2 separate regions of the Homo sapiens genome follow, and region 1 is linked to region 2. The links are contacts of gene promoters, found by promoter capture Hi-C in human tissues and cell types (Jung and others, 2019). All regions are on one chromosome and are shown on one strand. Each heading gives the region's core, a stretch centred on a gene start or on the middle of the fragment in contact. The rest is flanking DNA. Distances are from core to core; before and after follow the strand shown. Region 1 has its middle 16 kb from the start of MIR3680-1. Region 2 holds the start of USP31 (ubiquitin specific peptidase 31).

Region 1 (3,649 bases), core at 1,037-3,536, 1.6 Mb before region 2:
CCGCGCCCCGTACTCACGCACGGAGTGGCAGGCTACGAGCTTGGCTGCCTCCTCGGGCACCGGGCAGGTGGGGAAGAGCGGCTTGAGCAGGTAGGTGGCGAAGACCAGGGCCACGATGTACTGCGATGAAGGCCGGATGATGAGCAGCTCGATCCAGAGCTTGAGGAAGGCGGGCAGCGAGCCGTAGACGTCCAGCATGTAGGCGTAGTCGCCGCCCGATTTGGAGATGGTGGTGCCCAGCTCCGCGTAGCAGAGCGCGCCCACGATGGAGAAGACGCCGCACGCGGCCCACACCACCAGCGCCAGCCCCGGCGAGCCTGCCTCCTTGAGCACGCCCGTGGGCGTCACGAAGATGCCCGAGCTCATGATGGCGACCACGATGACGGCCACGCCCTTGAGTAGCGTGATGTTCCCCTGCAGGGTCACGCCCTCGCCCTCGCCTGCCGGCGCCGCGCCGTCCGCGCGCTTGGCGGCCATCATCTTCTCCCGCGCCTCTTCCTTCTCCTCGGCCACCGGGGCCGCTAGCGCGCGCCGCTTCGGGCCCGCACCCGCCATGCTCTGCTTACCGGCCGGGCCTGGGACACCCGGGAGCCGCAGCCGAGCGAGGATTGTGCGCGCCGCTCGCCGCCCGCCGCCCGCAGCTGCGTCAGGAACCCCGCCCGCGCCGCCTTTTAGGCCCCGGCCCACTGGCCCCGCCCACCGTCCGCGGCTCCTCCCCGACCCGTGGCCCGGCCGCGGCCCTCAGCCCCGCCCCCTCGACCCAGCTCGGAGCACGTGCGTCGTCCGGCCTAGCCTGGCAGGCGATTCCCAGGCCCGCGTGGTCCTCGAAGGCCCCCGTACTCCTGCGCCATGGAGACCCCGGCCTCGCGACCTACCCCCCCGGCGCCCGCGTCATCCCAGCCCGTCCTCCCGGGTGCGCCTGGGCGGGGCCTGGCAGTCAGGGCGAGCCCCTTCACCCACTGGCCCGCAGCCTCTCGTCAAGCCTGGGAGCGGGCAGTGCACCAGGGCTGGCCTGAGGCCAAGGATGGGGTTTGGGGTACCCCCCGAAGGGAACCTAGGCTCCTGTCCCGGATGGGCCGAGGGGATGGAACCGCCCCCACAACCAGCTCCTGGGGCACGGGGGAGGGATGAGAAGATGACCTGAGGGGAAGCTCCTGCAGCCTCCTTCCAGCCTGGGGGCTGCATCAATGTGGCTGGTGAGCCGCGAACTGAGACGAGGGAAGAACCGAACCGAGGCCACCCAGTAATTCCCATTGTATCCCAAAAGAATCTTGCCAAAGATGGCGATCCGGTGCCCGTAGCTTTGAGAAGCAGTAATAACACAGGCTTTGGGAAGCCAGCACTCTGCCTGAGCTCAATTTAATCAACAGAACCGGGGGTTCACCGGGAGCCATAAGACCCCCACCCCCAAATCTAGCTGGGAAATTCAAAGGCAGGCTTCAGTGTGAAGGGGCTTTAAAGCTTGTTATTCCTGGGGAATGCGAGAGGCATCTTAGCTAAAAAGGGTTGAGAGGTAATTTCAGTTAGAGGCGAGAGCAGGATGCCAAGGCTCCTAGGCCTGGAAACGGGAAGGAATATAAATACTGCCCCGAGATTGACCAGACTGGTGAGCAGCCAAAGACCTGTTCAAAGGGTGTGTGTGGGTCAGGGAGGAAGCTCCTCGGTATCCCCCCAACCCGGGGTTCCTTGGCGTGTGTCCTAACGAGTACTTGGAAGCTCACAGCAGGCATGTGGGGAGGCCTTTGTTCTGGGTGAGCGTTCAGCCTCCCAGGGCAAACACGCAAACACCGGTTGCAGAGCTGGGTGTTCACAGCAAGACAGTCTGCTGGGCAGATGCCTCTGGAATCCACAGAATTCTGAACAATAGCCGTGGTGGAGGGGGGGTCAGAATCCCTGTCGTGCTGGGACCTCTAGCTGCAGCCAGGAATGTCCAGGCCCCACCCCGGGGAGGAGGCGGCTGAGGAATGCCACGGCTTGTCATTCTGGACCTTGCTCGCCCCCCGGTATGGCAGGCATTCCTCTGCAGTGATAAAACCAAGCGAAATCTCAGCAGCCCAGGCAGCCACCGGCAGGGGAGTGCGGAGGTCGCACAGATACTAACTTGTAATCTGCCGTCCACGCTGCGGGCTGTGGAAGGTGCAGAGAGCCCTCCATCCACCCTATTCTTCCCGCTGTGCCTGCAGAGGGAAGGAGACAGTACCACCATGGCTGGACAAACTCACCGAGTGCTCACTGAGTCCTCCCCTAGATAGCTTCTTGTGCAATAGGGTAGGTGCCAGTTAGGAGCAAGGTTAGAGATTATAGGGCCAGATTTTTTGCTTAGGTTCAACTACGCAAAATAAAAATAGACTTTGCATGCATTTCAGGCACTGGGCTGACGACCGGCCACCAGGGAGGCTCCGCCCCACTTCTTAGCTTTGGCCCCAACGTTAGTCTTGTTGCTGCTCTCAGGCGTGCTCTGCGTGTGAAAGATGACTTGGAGGCTGGGCGCGGTGGCTCACGCCTGTAATGCCAGCCCTTTGGGAGACCAAGGTGGGAAAATCTCTTGAGCCCAGGAGTTCAAGACCAGCCTGGGCAACATAGGGAGACCCCGTCTCTACAAAAAATACAAAAACTAGCCCAGCGTGGTGGTGGTGCACCTGTAGTCCCAGCTGCTGGGGAGGCTGAGGTAGAAGGATCACCTGAGCTGGGGAAGGTTGAGGCTGCAGTGAGCTGAGATCACGCCACTGCACTCCAGCCTAGGCGACAGAATGAGACCGGTCTTTTTTTTTTTTTTTTTTTTTTTTTTTTGAGACGGAGTCTCGCTCTGTTACCCAGGCTGGAGTGCAGTGGCGCGATCTCGGCTTACTGCAAGCTCCGCCTCCTGGGTTCACACCATTCTCCTGCCTCAGCCTCCCAAGTAGCTGGGACTACAGGCGCTCACCACCATGCCCGGCTAATTTTTTGTATTTTTAGCAGAGACGGGGTTTCACGGTGTTAGCCAGGATGGTCTTGATCTCCTGACCTTGTGATCCCCCCGCCTCGGCCTCCCAAAGTGCTGGGATTACAGGCGTGAGCCACTGCGCCCGGCGAGACTGGTCTTGAAAAAAAAAAAAAAGATGACATGGAAGCAACAGTAGGAGCCGGGGTCAGAGTTCAGGCCCGTCCATCCGTGGATGATGGATAAACCCAGCGTAGTCCGCCATCCCTTGGAGAGTCATTCAGCTGCACACAGGAAGACGCGCTGCAATGTGCAGGACCCCTGAAAACACTGGGCTGCGTGAAAGGGTCAGTGACCACGGGTTGTATGATTCCGAGTGCACGAATGTTCAGGACAGGAGGATCCAGAGAGACGGACGAGATTCGTGGCTGCTTAGGGCGGGGGGAAGGGGCGATGGAGAGTGAGGGCTGAGTGGATGGGGTCTCTCTTTGGGGTGATAAAATGTCTTGGAACTAGATGATGGGGATGGTTGCCCAACACTGGGAGTGACTTAAACACCACGGATTTGTACGTGTTTAAATGACTAACGGTTAATGTTATGTTATGTGTGAACTATACATCCAAAAGATAAAAGCAGTTCAGGCCTAGAATCGAACGGTCCTGGGTTCAGATCTCACCTCTACCACTTGCTGGTTAATGTGGCACCAGGCGAGTGACTCGGCTCAGCTT
Region 2 (3,595 bases), core at 360-2,859:
GTGAGGCGGGAGGATTGCTTGAGCCCAGGAGTTTGAGGCTATGTGAGCACTGCACTCCAGCCTGGGCAACAGAGCAAGACCCTGTCTCTAAAAATAAAATAAAAATAAAAAGTAGCCTGTCAGCACATCAATCACAGCAGCAGGTTTTTCTTTCTTCAAACCACTATCTGATATTATCTCGTTAACTTCTTCAAGTCTTTAATAACAAAAATAATAGCAGCAAATACACATGATATGGAAGTATTTTACTTATCAGGTTGAACCCTATAAAAGTGCCAATCTGTAAATAAAAAACGGTTAAATATGGGTAATTCCACAGTGTTCGATTTAATATATTAACTTGTTTGCAGCTCACAACCACCTTACAAAGTAGGTCCCCCAGATGAAGAAACTGTAAGAACAGAGAGGCTGCTTAACTTACCCGACGTCACATTGCTAGTAAGTGGCAGAACCAGGATTTGAACCCATGCTCAACACTCCCACCCCACAAAAATGCAAGTTCCATGAAGGCGGATAGTCTTGTTCATTGCAACGTCACTCCCATTGCCTATTATCACAGAGTATGGGCACGTATGTAGTAAGTTCTCAATAAATACATGTTTGAGTGAGTGAGTGAGTGAATAAATGAATGAATGAATGAATCTCCTTAAAATCACTGGTCGACTGCCCAGACCACTCGGAGCAACCAATGCAGAAGCCTGCCGGGCCAAGAGGAACCGAGGGAAGGAAGACCTGGGCGGGCAGGTGCCCCAGGGGCTCGGGGTGCAGTGGGGGCGCGGCGGCGCGCGGGCTCACCTTGAAGTCGCGGCTGTGCTGCGGGGTGTACTCCAGGGTCCAGAGGGCCCGCACCAGGTGCGCCAGCTGCTCAGTGACCTCGCCCTGGCCCTGCGCGCCGCGGCCCGCAGGCTGCTCCGGGTCAGGCGAGGGCTCGGGCCGCCCCGCCCGGTACTGGCCCAGCGCCAGGTACTCGGCGAAGAGCTCGGTGTTGCTGAGGCACTGCAGCGTGGCGTTCATGAAGCACGTGTTGCCGTGGTTGCGGAGCCCCGCCACGCCGGGCACCGGCTCGGCGGCGCAAGCGGGCGGCGCGGGAGAGGCGGGCGGCGGCGGGCACGGCGGCGGCGTGGGCGCGGCGGCCGGCCCGGGCGGGAAGCAGCTGCGGAGGCCGCCGCGGTCTGGGGCGGCGCCCTCAGAGCTAAGGTGCGAGAGCGTGGACAGCGTCTTGAGAACGCGGCTCATGAAGCTGCCCACCGAGCGTGCAGAGGAGGGCGAGGAGGGCGAGGAAGGCGCGGCCGGCCCGGACGCCCCGGGGCCCCCCGCGCCGCCGCCGCCAGCGCGGCCGCTCCGAAACAGCCGCTTGCTGAAGGAGCGCTTCTCCTTCCCGCTCGCCGCCGCCGGCGGCCCGGACCCAGGCGCCGTTACCTTGGACATGGCGGCGGCCGCAGACACTCATCACCGCGCCCGCCCGCCCGGCCCGCGGCCCCGCCACGGCCGCCGCCGCATCCCGCAGCGCCGCGCCTCACCGGGCCCGGGGGCTCGACGCCCCACACACCTCAAAGCGCAGCCGAGCCAGCGAGCGAGCGGCGGCCGGCGGGGCCAGCGGGCGCGCGCGCGGTCCGCCCAGCTGAGCCGCTCACGTGACGTGCCTCCCGGCGCCGCCCGCCCGGCGCTGAAGCCGCCTCGGCCGCCATGTTCACTGTGGGACGGTAGCTGCCTCTCCAGCCGGACGCGATGCCTGGAGGCTGCGGGCGCGGTCCTGCTGCGTGAAGCCCGAGGGAGGCCATGTCTAGTGTGGGCGCCGTCCCGGCTTGGAGGAAAAGGCTGGGCTCCCGTTGGATGGTGGATCCCCGGGGTGGGTCTCTGTCTTTGCTGGTCAGATGGCAGAGGCGGGAACGTGCAGGAATCAGGATGCTGTCAGTTACCAGACCGTGCAAGAGCTGGTGGACATGGCCCTGACAGGTCCTGGGCAAGTCAGCCCTGTCTGGCTCCCAAGGGACGTTGCAGATACCTACCCTCTGGGTGCCAGCGGAGCGCAGTCACAGACCCTGGCACGTCCCAGCGGGCTTTTCTTCCTGGCTGCACCTTGGAGTCCCAGCGAAACGCTGTTATCATAACTACTTTCCTTTTCATTCCAGCCTTTAAAACTCCTCCGGGCTCTCCCATCATTCATCATTCCATTCATTCATTCACTCACTCATTCATTCAGCAGTTACTGGGGATATTGCAAAGAATTAAACCTATTAAATTAGAATCAAATGTCATATCCCCAGCGGATTAAATTAGCACGGTTTCTACCTGCCCTCTTGCAGCTTACATTCCTACTGGGTGTTTACAATAGCTGTTGTGTTCCACACATTATGCCAAGCATGCAATATTTTCTTTAATCTTTAATTCACCGTCTTTGAGATTGGTACAGTTCTTATCTGATTCAAACCCAAGTTTTATTTACAACCCCTATACTTGACCTCTAAACCAAAGGTCACGAATCCACAAATATCACAGGTCACAAACCCACAAATGAGTGAAGAATCCTGGTGTTTGAATCATCATATTGACTTTCAAGTGACTTGGGTCTCAGTGTTGGGGGAAATATAAGGAATGATGGGGACTATAGCAGACTTCAAATTAACATCTTTCTAAAGAGGTGGCTGCCACTCAGCTCCAGCCAGTTGTTCCCATGTGAGAACAGGAGCTCAGCGTTACCAGATCATCTGATGTTTTAAGAGAAGGCAGAAATCCTATTTTTAAACGTTGGTTCCATTAAAAAAAAAATAGTGCAGGGAGCAAAAAATAGTACATCTTTGGGATGCCTTTAGTCCAAAATCAACTAGTATATGACCTCCTCTCTATAGGCTCCCCTCTGCTAAAAGGGCTAGTCTGAGTCCTGAGGCAGAAGAGAGAAATCAGAGAAGGGAGAGCCCTTCCTCCTTTTTAAAACATGAAGGCCACCTTACACCACGTTTCAAAGTAAATGGTTTTTACCTTTGACCTCCCTCCCCAATGTAAGTAGGGCTCTATGATGACATCTCCAGGGTGCTCTGCACTGTCCCTAATCGGCTCCACTCTCCTCTTAGTCAAAATTCTTATCTGGACACCAGGAAGAAAGCCATCTGATTATTCACACTAAAATGTGAATGCAATGGCCCTCAACTTCTGGGCAGTTTGATCTAGACTCGAGGGCCTTTGCTGGAGCCGTTCCCTCTCCCTTGAACCTTTCCTTAGCTAACTTAGAACCTTTCTACTTAGCTAACTTCCCCTCATCCTTAAAGTCCCACCTTAGATATCACCCCCTCCAGGAGATGTCCCTTCCACAGGCCCTCTTGGCACCTCTCATTCATGACACTGACTTGACCATATTGCAATTCAGTTTACAATCATCACCTTCACTAATATGTGGGCTTCAACCCAGTAGAGACCCATCTTACTCATTATTCGGTACCCAGTAAGGTAGCCATTATATAACAGGTTGATTATTTGGCAACTTTATACCTAAACAATGTCGTGTGTGTGTGTGTGTGTGTGTGTGTGTGTGTGTGTGTGTATGTGTGTGTGATGGAGTCTCACTCTAACAACCAGGCTGGAGTGCAGTGGCGGGATC

The links. The method cuts DNA at HindIII sites, captures the fragments that hold promoters and counts their contacts. A contact is called where the count stands out against the background at its distance.
Region 1: a fragment that was not itself captured here is called in contact with the fragment with the promoter of USP31 in region 2 in 1 of the 25 tissues and cell types used here (dorsolateral prefrontal cortex).

The regions. Positions count from the first base shown.
Region 1 is chr16:21,519,811-21,523,459 of GRCh38, forward strand. It overlaps the pseudogene SLC7A5P2. Among named protein-coding and RNA genes, the nearest start is that of MIR3680-1, 16 kb to the left of the region's middle. RefSeq lists enhancers at 262-995, 996-1,728, 1,729-2,463 and a silencer at 356-1,015. The HindIII fragment of the contact is 7,216 bases long and covers 1-3,649 here.
Region 2 is chr16:23,147,843-23,151,437 of GRCh38, forward strand. USP31 (ubiquitin specific peptidase 31) reads right to left here and starts at 1,610. Exons shown (of 16, transcript NM_020718.4): 1 at 796-1,610. The coding sequence starts at 1,428. RefSeq lists silencers at 751-980, 1,111-1,210, 1,311-1,360, 1,511-1,610 and an enhancer at 1,791-2,010. The HindIII fragment of the contact is 9,135 bases long and covers 1-3,595 here.